2 separate regions of the Homo sapiens genome follow, and region 1 is linked to region 2. Evidence: promoter capture Hi-C in human tissues and cell types (Jung and others, 2019). All regions are on one chromosome and are shown on one strand. The core of a region is centred on a gene start or on the middle of the fragment in contact, and the rest is flanking DNA. Distances in the headings are between cores, read along the strand shown.

Evidence for each region. The method cuts DNA at HindIII sites, captures the fragments that hold promoters and counts their contacts. A contact is called where the count stands out against the background at its distance.
Region 1: a contact is called between a fragment that was not itself captured here and the fragment with the promoter of KCNH2 in region 2, in 1 of the 25 tissues and cell types used here (ovary).

Annotation. Positions count from the first base shown.
Region 1 is chr7:150,912,850-150,918,375 of GRCh38, reverse strand. No RefSeq gene overlaps it. Among named protein-coding and RNA genes, the nearest start is that of KCNH2, 63 kb to the left of the region's middle. The HindIII fragment of the contact is 7,230 bases long and covers 1-4,903 here.
Region 2 is chr7:150,976,116-150,981,071 of GRCh38, reverse strand. KCNH2 (potassium voltage-gated channel subfamily H member 2) reads left to right here and starts at 2,751. Exons shown (of 15, transcript NM_000238.4): 1 at 2,751-3,234. The coding sequence starts at 3,159. It overlaps LOC124901776 (a long non-coding RNA gene), which reads right to left. Exons shown (of 3, transcript XR_007060592.1): 2 at 4,361-4,536; 3 at 3,717-4,227. RefSeq lists a silencer at 1,734-2,083 and an enhancer at 4,453-4,956. The HindIII fragment of the contact is 28,056 bases long and covers 1-4,956 here.

The DNA.
Region 1 (5,526 bases), core at 39-2,538, 61 kb after region 2:
TTGTTTAAAATATTTGTTTTGTGGCTGTGTTTCTTCTTCGTGCATTCCAATTTTGTGGGAGTTGCAGCTCCTCTGCCTTCCTTCATAGCTGTCACTTTCTCTCTTTGTTTGCCTTTCATTTCGCTCGCCCGTCTAATCCGTTTCCCCCTTCTGGGTTCCGAAGTACTTTCTCGTGCTGCTTCCAGTTTTGTCTTCATTTTTGTGATGATTTAAATTTTGATTCTACTCTTTCCTGGGTTTTGCCAGCTTTCTTTTCATATCCTTCTGTTTTCTCACCATCTCTTTCTTGAGCTGTTACTTAAGTTTAAAAAATTCATGGCAAAATATTTGGATATGCTTTTCATCTGTTCATTGCAACACATTTTTGACAAGTGTTTTTTATCTGCCATTTTTCTCTCATTTTTAGTCTATAATATTTTTGTATAGATTGTGTATAGATCTAAATATTATCCTTCTTTGATGCAGACAAGTTTTTCTTGGACCAGATATTTGCAGGAGGTTCGTAAGAGGTAGGGGCCGGGGCCATTCTAGGCTGACACAAATGAACCTGTGAATTATACATATATTTTAAAAAACAGAATTTGTTTAAACTTTTTCTTTTCTCCGCTCAGCAGGGATAGGAAGGTGTAGAGCTGTCTGCAATGCAAAGTCTTTCTTCTGCTGTTGCGTTAGGGTGTGTATTACTTTCATATTTGTAGTAACAAACACTGCAAACTTAGAACAATGCACATTTGGCTTAAAATAACACAACTTTATATCTTACAGTTCTGTAGATCCAAAAGGGGTCATAGTGGGCAAAATGATTTATGACCCCTTTTGGATCTCCAGAACTGTAAGATATAAAGTGGTGTCAAGATGTTTGCAGGGCTATGTTCCTTCTGGTGGTTCTAGGGGAGAATCCACTTCCTTGTCTTTTTCAGTGCCTGGAGGTCAACGACATCCCTTAGCTTATGGCCTGGTCCTCCATCTTCAAATGCATAAACACAGCATCTCCAGATCTCTCTCTTGGACATTCCTGCCTCTCATAAGAACCCTTGTGATTACATTGGGCCCACCTGGAAAATCCAGGCTAATCTCAGCATCTCAAGATCCTTCATTTAATCATACCTGCGAAGTCCCTTTTGGCAAGTAAAGTAGCGTGTTCACAGGTTTTGGAGATTATAATGAGGACATCTTGGCGGGGGCACTCTTCTGCTGCCTCAGGGGTCACAGTCTGGATTAGGATGCTTATTATATGTGCCCTTGGGTCAATGCCTGAGGAAGGGAGGAGGGGAAGCAGGAATGGGCAGAGGCAGTTGTTGGGCTGGGATGCAGCCTGACAGCCTCTGCTCACCCATGAGGAGGTCCGGGGCCGAAAGGAACAAGAGAGTTGTCTGGGGTTGGGCAGATGTGGTGAACTTTGATACTTCTGCTTCCATTAGTCTTTGGATATGGGTTGCACACAAGCTGATGTGACCTGGATGAGCAGTGGTCCTCAGCTGAAGAAGCCCTGGCGAGGCTGACAGCTCGAGGTCGCCCCTGATGGCACTTGCAGAAGGTGGGACAGGTCCTTCCTCAAAGCAGGGTTTGGGTGGCGCATCTCCATGGGTCCTCTGGACAGACTGCTTCCTACAAAAAGCGCTCATCAGTGTGACTGCACCTTCACCCGCCTCTGCTTCTTGGGATCCGATTCGGTCTTGGGAGGCCCCCTGGGGTCTGCCTCCACTGTTGGAAGTGAGGAGTCCCAGGTTTTCTCTCTGGGCTGCACCCTCATCCTCCTGAGCCACCACTGCCAAGGACTCTCTCCTCTCATCCTGCATGCGCAGTCTTCACTCCATTTGGAGAGGATATTGTTCAGAGACCTATCTGTCTCCTAGCTTCATCAGGTATGGCCACTGTGTTTTGGTTTTCCTTTCTGCTCGATGGTCCAGGGCAATTTCCAAGAAGGTAAGGGGAAAGCCATCTCACACCATAGGATCCAAACTGCTCTCTCCCCTTCTTAGAGAATCAACTTCTCTCCACTCTAGGAGGACAGGAGGCACTGTGACCTGCGCTCGCTCCCGCACCCCACCCTCTGCCACTCCACTTCAAAGGCACGCCATCCCTTGCAACACACAGTCCCAACAATCTGTGTGGCTGGTGCCCTCTGGCCTTACCCCCTCTCCTGGATGATCCTGACTTCTCGTCACTCCATTCCTGGGGCACACACATTATGGTGAGCATAACTTGCAGGCTCCCTCCATCTCCACCTCGCTGTAGACATACCTGAACTCCATCCTGTCTTGGCCTTAGCTGCATCAGGCTTCTGAGATCCCAGACTTGGCATTTCCCCACTGGTCAGCACTGCCTGCATCTCCAGCCTGTCCTTCACCTCCCTGATCAGCGTTCTCAGATCCAGGTGTCCTTCCCTCCCTGATTGACCCAGTTCATCCCACTGTTGTTGCTACACTTGAGCCCTCATAACTTTTCAGCTACTTCATGAAATTCTAGCACTTGGACATTAAAATGGGACTTACATGTCCTCTAGGTCAACTTGTATTTGTGGGAAACAGCCTCCAGCTTTCTGTGTGGTGAAGCAAGGGGCCCGGGCGTGCGTGGCCTAGGCCTGGGTGTGTGGTCATGTTTTCTCTAGCTGGAGGATGCTCCTCCAGCTGTCTCTTGGCTGAGGGGCTTGCAGAGTGGACAGGAGCGAGGTATAGAGGAGAGCTTTGAGCATATAAAGAAGTTCTTTTGGGTTGAGTTCTCTAGATGGGGTTTAGGGGAGGAAAAAGAATCCCCAGTCAACAGAATTAATTTGGGACTATCCTCTTTGAAGAAAGGGAGTTAGTATAGAGTGGGGAAAACATTTGCCTTGGAGTTGGATTGACTTGGGTTCAAATATGAGCTCCAACATGTGCTGGCTGTGTGACCTCAGAGTCATTGCTTAAAGGACCTCATTTATTGTACCTGTAAAGTGGTTAGTGACAGGATCTCCCCATATGTGGTCATGCAATTTAAAGGATATGTGAAAAGCTTGGCAAGTGTTTAGTTAGGTTAAGCCATGCTCACTGCTGTAGTAAGCCAACTCCAAAACCTTAACCATGGTTAAGAAATAAACCTCAACCGTGGTTTATTTCTCATTAGGGCAAGGTCCCAGGCAGTGCTCCTCCCTGCCATGACAGAGGTCGAGGGGCTCACATCCTGTGACTCTGCCCTCTCAGCAGGCGGCCTCTGTAGTGGCTGCCATGTGGAGAGTGGCTACCAGGTGGTGACCGAAGAGACACACCAGCTTGGAGCTTTGCTTGGAGCCAGTTTCATGGCCCCATTGAAATGCATGGGAGGCCAGGAAACATGAGGGAGACTGACGGGCTGACTCACGTATCTTAGTTCTTTACTCCACAAACATGACAACATTTTGCATTTTCCTTTGAATGAGAACCCCATAACAATTCCTTTAGCAAATCCCATGGTGGCCTCAGATGTCCTATTAGAAAAGGGGGTTCACACTTCCACACTCAGGTCTGGATTGGGACCAGGAATGTGATGGAGAGGCTGGCAGTAAGGACATTTTAAAAAAAGATGTCTAAATTTCTCAGAAGGAGAAGGGAAACCAGAAAAAGATGGGAGAAATTTAAAACTCTGGGGGATTGAACCTGGAGTGGTGGTGAATGTACTTTCCTTACTGCTGGAATGTTCCTTTGAATCCATGCAAAATGAAAATCCCCTCCACCACAGCCCAGATGGATGGACCCCTGTCCAGGAACAGAGCATGCTTGACTTCGCTGGACAGTGCCTGTTGTAGGCGAAATCTGTCTTCTAGTGCCTTGCATCTGTTGGTCCTGCTTCTCCTTCCAGCTGCTCCATAAGCCCAGCCTCTGACAACGACTCAGATATGTTAGGCAAATGCTCGGGTCCCCTCAACCTTTTCTTCTCTGCGCAAAACAGCCCTTAACACTGCAACCACTCCTGGGAGGATAGAATTTTGAGGTGCTGGCAAGACACAGGGAGAGAGCCCTCACTAGCCCAACATCGCTGGCTTCATGAGTCTGCAGAGCTTAACACTTGGCTGCCCCTGTGGGGACAAAAGAAAGGCCCCCAGGAGAGCTTGGTTACTAGAATCAATGCAAATGGCAGGAGACAGGTTGCCTTCTAGGCCAAAGGTAAATCAGACATGACTTTAATAAAGCTAAATAAATAATGCGAGCAGAGGAAGGGCGACTTGGGGATAGACAACCCACAAAATGGGGAGTCCGAGAGATGGATGTTGACGGTGTCTGCCCAGCACTGTCCGGGGGACATGGAATTTGAGTGTTGTGAGCATCCAGGATGCTGGAGCGCTGATGTCTCGGGCAGGGAGAGTCATCAGGCCATATCATAGCGTTGGGGAGATGCCCTCCAATATTAGCACCTGCCATGGACCAAATTCCATGTTCACAGGCAATGTTTAGTTTAACAATTTTACGTACCAGTTCTCTGATCCTGGGAAAGACAGTGTTCTGGTGGGAAGGTCATTCTGGTGGTTGGAGTGGGAACGAATCCACTGGACCCTGGTTCATCTATCAGTCTATTGCGGGCAGGAACCATTCTCTGCTAGAACGATTCCCCAGGGAGGCTGTGCACCACTGACAGTTGCCACTGTTATCTATTTTCCATTCTTCCCTGTTAGTAGAATCCACATGCCAGCTAAAATACTCACCCTCCAGACCCTCCTGAAGCTCAGGGGAGCTGTGTGCCACAGTTCTGGCCAATGCAACGTGGGCGGAAGTTTATAGGGAGTGTATCCTTTTTCACGATAACAAAGGTAAAGCCCTGCTGGAGAAAACCTTTTTGCCCTTCCCATTTCTTTCTACCTAGAACATGATTGTGAGGCTTGGAAGTGCAGCGGCGATTTTGTGACAATGAAGACAAAAGCTACACTCAAGGATATCAGAGGAAGGAGAGAGAGAGGGGCTGTGGCTCCTTGGTGACATCCATGAGAAGCTGCCCCAGCCCCCACTTGCCTTGTTCTGGACATTGTAGAAAATAAGCTCCTGTCTGTTTAAGCCAGAGTTGGTGGTGGTCTTCACTGATGCAGGTGCTAAGCAGAGTTTCTGGGCTAGCAGAGCTGAGACAGGACCCTACAATGTAGTCAGTGCACAAGGTGATGCGTCTGCGAGGTCCTTGGTGGTCTTCCCCTTGGATACTTCTCAGTGTTTTTCTGGTCATAAATATAACTCACATACTTAGTGAAAATTCAGATGAATCAGTGAATTTTAAAGAATAAAGAAAAAAACTTCCTTAAGCCTACCACCCAGAGATAACCACTGTTTACACAGTGGTGAATATCCTCAGAGATATCTGTGGGTCTAGTCGATATAGGTAATGCATTTTTAAAAACATATATAGGATTGCATTTTGAAACTTGCTATTCACTCAGCAGTGTTTTGTGAACCTCTTTCTAGTGATTTTGTTAAGAAAATCCCTTCTGAATGTTGTCTGATTGAAAAAATATCTCCATTATTAATGTTAGCTCTTTTCACACTTAAATACTATTATTTAATCTATTATACTGTAATTTAGCCGATCTAT
Region 2 (4,956 bases), core at 1,502-4,001:
GGCTTCCATTTCTCTTTCTCCTTCCAGGATGTCCTGGCTCCATGCCTTCGGACTGAGCAGGAGCAGAGAGCAGGGTGGGTAGGATGCTTTCTGCAGACTTTTCTCCCTAAATTGTTTCTTTTTGGGAGCTGGGAGGAGCCTGGATATCTCACTGTAGCCTCTCTGTTCCCTCAGTCACAGGCAGGGTGCGGGAGAGCTCTTCCCAGGAATGGTCTCTGAAATGGCTCTTGGAGCTGAGATGGGGGTGGGGCAGATTCTAGAGGCTTAACAGCCCAGCTCTTGGTATTAGGGTTGGGCACTTTTCTCTTTGTCCCAGATCTGGGGGTAGCAGAGGTGGGAAGTTGAAGGCAGTGGGGGCTTCTCCATCAGCTCATCTGAGGCCCAGAAATGTTGCTTTGGGGAGAGCTTGCCCCCTCTCACCGTTTCTCTTCCTCAGCTCAATTCTTGAGTGTGGGGGCGGCTAAGTGGGTCTGCCTTCAGGCTCTACCCTGAGCCTCCAAGGAAGTCAGAAATCTACATTCAGCTTTGACTTCTGAGTATGTGGAGTGGGCTGGGGGGAGAGAGGGAGAGATCTGTCTCTCCTCAGCTTGAGGGAACAGCTCTCTTCTTGCCTCTGTGCACAGAAGGAGGGCTACCCCGTGCCTGGGCTCCTCTCTGTTTGGGAGGATGAAGGGCTCCTCTGACTCCTGTCTTCCCTTTGGGATAAGAGCAGAGGCCTGTCCCAGCAACACGGGTACAGGAGTGGAGGACAGCTGGCCAGCTCAGATGAGTGGCTCCTTCCCTTCAGGGCCTGGCTCTCCCTCTCCCTTGGTCTGGAGAGAGGGGGAGGCTACAGATGTCCCTTTCCCTTCTTGCCCTCCCATGCCCATTCTCAGCTGCTGGCCTTTGCTCACTTTCTCTCCATCCCCTGGCCTGGACAGGAGGACACTTCACTCACACATGAATCATCCTGGATTCATGGTAGGCAACCCAGCAGCCAGGGGTGGCCTTGGGGCGTGGCGGGGGCTGGGCCAGTCGTGGACTAGGTTCTACCCGGAACCCAGATGTGTTGATGCACCTGATGCCAAATGCTACACCAAGGAGGAGCTTGTGCTGTGGAAGGCCCTGGGCCCCCGGGGGGGTGAGTGAGGAAACTGCTGGCAGTGGAGAGGGCCTGAGGAATAACTGCACAGGCAAGAGCCTCTGGACTTTTTTAGCATCAGCTGTGGAGCCACCTCCTTCTCTCCCACTGGCTGCCTCCCTGAGTCACTGCCCACCCACCAGCAAATAAAAAAGAGTGTCATCTGCTGGCCAGTGGCCCCATTTGGCCCCAGTGTTTGCATCTTTGTGCTCCTGGGTGGAAGGTGAGAGTCCGGGTAGGGTGGTCTCACGACGACAGTTTTCTGCGCCTTCCTCCTTCGGGACTCCGATTCCTTCCCTGCCCTTTGTTCTTCCCCTCCCCCCATGATGGTTCTCGCTGGTGACAAGACCCAGCCCCTGCTCCAAGGACAGAGGCAGCTGCAAGCCCTCAGGAGCCCCCACATGGCCCCATCCATCTAGACAGGTCTCTGATCCGGCTGCAGGGAGGGGACCCTCGGCTGTTCAGCTGCGACTCCTCCCTCCCCGCCCGCCCACTCAGCTGTCAACACTCGCCTCCCCGCCCTGGCCTTCCCGGGGCCCTGCCTGACTGCTAAGTCCGAGGACACCGCGCCCGGAGACCCTCACTCAGACGCAAGCAGGCGATGAGCAGGCGGCGGGGCAGACACCCCGCCTGCCCTTGAGCATCCCTAGGCCTCCTTGCCTAAATAAGGGAGCCGCAGCTGGAGCGAGCCAGCTGGCCGGGGGGAGGGGCCTGCGGCTAGGCCAGGGCTTTCCGAGGGGCTGGGCCGTGGCCGCCGCCGCAGGGCCCCGAGCCCGCCGATTGGGCGTGCAAGGCTGGCCCCGGGCTGCCGGGGGAGGGCGGGCCGCTCGCACCCGGGGATCCCCTGGTTGGAACCTCGCGCTCAGGGACCTCTCTTTGATCCTGCAGCTAGGAGGCCGCAACTGCTGTCAGAATGTCCCTCTCTGTGCAGCTCCTATGCAGAGCCCCACAGAGGGCTCTCTCTCTCTCCGTGTGTGTGTGTGTATGTGTGTGTGTGTGTGTGTGTGTGTGTGTGTGTGTATGTGTGTGTGTGTGTGTGTGTGTGTGTGTGTGTGTGTGTTGGGGCAGGGGGCGTGCCCCTTCTAAGTTTAACCCTCCCTTATTTCAGAGCTCTGCTGCTCTGGGGCCTTCAGATTGTCTTGCTTTTCCTATTTCCAGGGTCTCCCTTGACTCCGGGCTCGTCTTCGAGGGTCCAGGCGTTGCCCCGGTCACCCACAGTAGGCACTGAGCGCGTGCTGTGTATACCAAGCCAGTGCTCGGCGTGGTGGGGAACCAGGGCATAAGGACCCGCCGTTTCCCTTCAAATCAGGTTTCTTAGTCGCTAATCTGGGGTGGGGGTGGAATCCCTTCCCCCATCCCGGCCGCCTACAAGCCGGCCATGGCACCTGTCCTCACGGTTTCCCCTGCCTAAGGGTCCCTTCCCCCTCTTCTGGGCGCGCGAGTCCCAGGGGCTCCTTGGCAGAGCGAGGGGCTGGCGTTGGGGGAGCACTCGGCGCGGCTCAGCCAATGGGAAGGTCGGGCGCGCGCGGTGGGGCGGGATGGGGGGGGGAGAGGGCGGTGCTGCGGGCGCGCGGCAGGCGGGAGGGGGCCGGGAGGCGGGGGCCGGAGCCGGAGGGGCGCGCGCCGCATTAACCCTTCCGCGGCCGGGCCGAGCCGCAGGCGCTGCCCGAGCCGCGGGCGCTGGAGCGGCTGTCGGCGCGGTGGCAGGCGGGAGCCAGGAGTCCGGGGCTCGGGCGGGCGGAGCGCAGCGCGGGGACGCGGCGGAGCGGGCCCCGCGGCTCGGCGGGGGCCGGCAGACAGGTGTGCCGGCGGCGGGCGGCTCGCGCTCAGGCGGCTCCAGGCCGGGCCCGGGGTCCGGAGCGGGGAGCCGGGAGCCGAGCGAGGACCCGGCGCCCGCAGTCCAGTCTTGGCCGCGCCCGTGCTCGGCTTGGCCGCGGGGTGCGGGGACCACGGCCCGGCCGGGCCACCCGAAGCCTAGTGCTGGGCCGGGCCGGGCCGGGGTGGGTGGGGGCCCGCCCGGCCCGCCCATGGGCTCAGGATGCCGGTGCGGAGGGGCCACGTCGCGCCGCAGAACACCTTCCTGGACACCATCATCCGCAAGTTTGAGGGCCAGAGTGAGTGGGGGAGGGGGCTGAGCGGGGAGGGGGCTCTGGGGGCGGGCCGAGCTCTTCCGAGTGTGGATGGGGGGGCGTGCCCGGGCCGTGTGCGTCGGCAAGTGCGAGTCAATGGGGCCTGGTGGGCCCCAGGCTTTGGCGAGGGGACGGCGGGGGCAAGGCTTGGTGCACCGGGGCCGTGGGCACCGGGCCAAAGGGTTTGGGGTTGGGGCTTGGGGCGGGAAACTCAGCTCAGGCTTTTGGGATCGGAGTGTGTGTGACACGCTGAGTGTGCAGGGAAGGGATGTGGGATGGAGTGTGCAGGTGTCCCCAACTCTGGGTGCGTGGACGTGGATGGGGCTGTGTGCAAGGGCATAAGAGTGTGTACGACCCAAACCCTGGGATCCCGAGAGTCCAGCGCGCACACTGGTCTTGCCAGATCTTGACTGTGTTGTGCCGGAGGGACTGAAAAGCCGTGGATGCAGGGTCAGCTCATAATCTCTTCTTGTGTGTGCCGTGTGTATATAACCCTGAGCCCATGTGTCACCCGTGAGTTAGACCCTGTATGGGCGGTGGGGAGGTGTCTTTGACAAGGCTGCGAGCTTGTGGGCTCTGTGGAGACAGGGTGTCCTGGGGCTAGAGCTGGGCTTTGAGGGTAAGCAGCTCCCTGTGGTACCCCCAAGTTGTGGGTTTTCTTGCCCTGGAGACTGTCACCTAATTCCCTTATGGGGACCGGGAGTACAGCACCCCTAATGCCTGCCTGGTAGGGAGGCTTCTAGAAGGGTCCCAGATTAGGCAAATGTCCTGGGGGTGGGCAGCATTCATGTGCCTGTCCCTAAGGCTGCATGAGCCACAGTGGGTGTGACTGCCAAGGGCCCTGGGAGTTGGGAGAGGATGACATTCCTTGTCCATGACCCTGTGAGCACAGGACAACGCGTGCTTGTAACGGTGGTTGGGGGAAGGAGGGGTCAGTCCGATGGTCAGTATTGTGTGAAGCGGAGGAACAAGATGATCCTGAGGGGGTGGAGACAATGACACTGGTTGAGGGCCTCCCTGAGAGGTGGGGGTGGGCCCAGGGGGAGGCTGTGGGCGGGCCTACGAGGAGGCTGGGATGGATGTGGGGGGGGGTGCTGGATTCTAGCCCTACCTTTGCCACTGACTGCCATGTGACCTTGAGTGACTCTTCCCTCTTTGGGTCTCAGGTTCCAGGTCTGTGGAGGAGGGGCAGGCTTTCTGTCCCATCCCTGTATTCCAGGATCTCAGTGAAGGGTGTGTGGTGGGGTGGGGCATGCCTTCGAAGAAACTTGCTCTTCTTTCCCCAGCCTGGGAGAGAGGACAAGGGGTGGTTTTTCTTCTATGAAGCTGGGGTGTGTGGCTGGGCCTCTGGACTGCCTTGGACTGTGGCAGAGCTGGAGGCCGAGTTAGGGGGTCTTTTCAGGTGACAGGAAACCCTGACTCCTGGAATTGATGGCTGCCTGGGAGGTCTGGGGGGCCTTGGGAACTGGCCAAAAGATGAACCAGTTCCAAAAGGCAACTTTCTGGGGGCCAGGGGAAGGGAGAATCGAGAAAGGTGGGAGGAGGCCAAGTCCTGATGGCCTGGGCCTATCTCAGGGTGCCCTGCTGCAGCCCAGCTTTGCACGTAGGATTGCCTAGGGCTGCAACCTGAGGGCTATGCTTGCTGGGGAGGGGAGGGGAAGGGAGGGGGAGAATTCCAACTGCTACTGAAAGCCCCAGCATTACAGG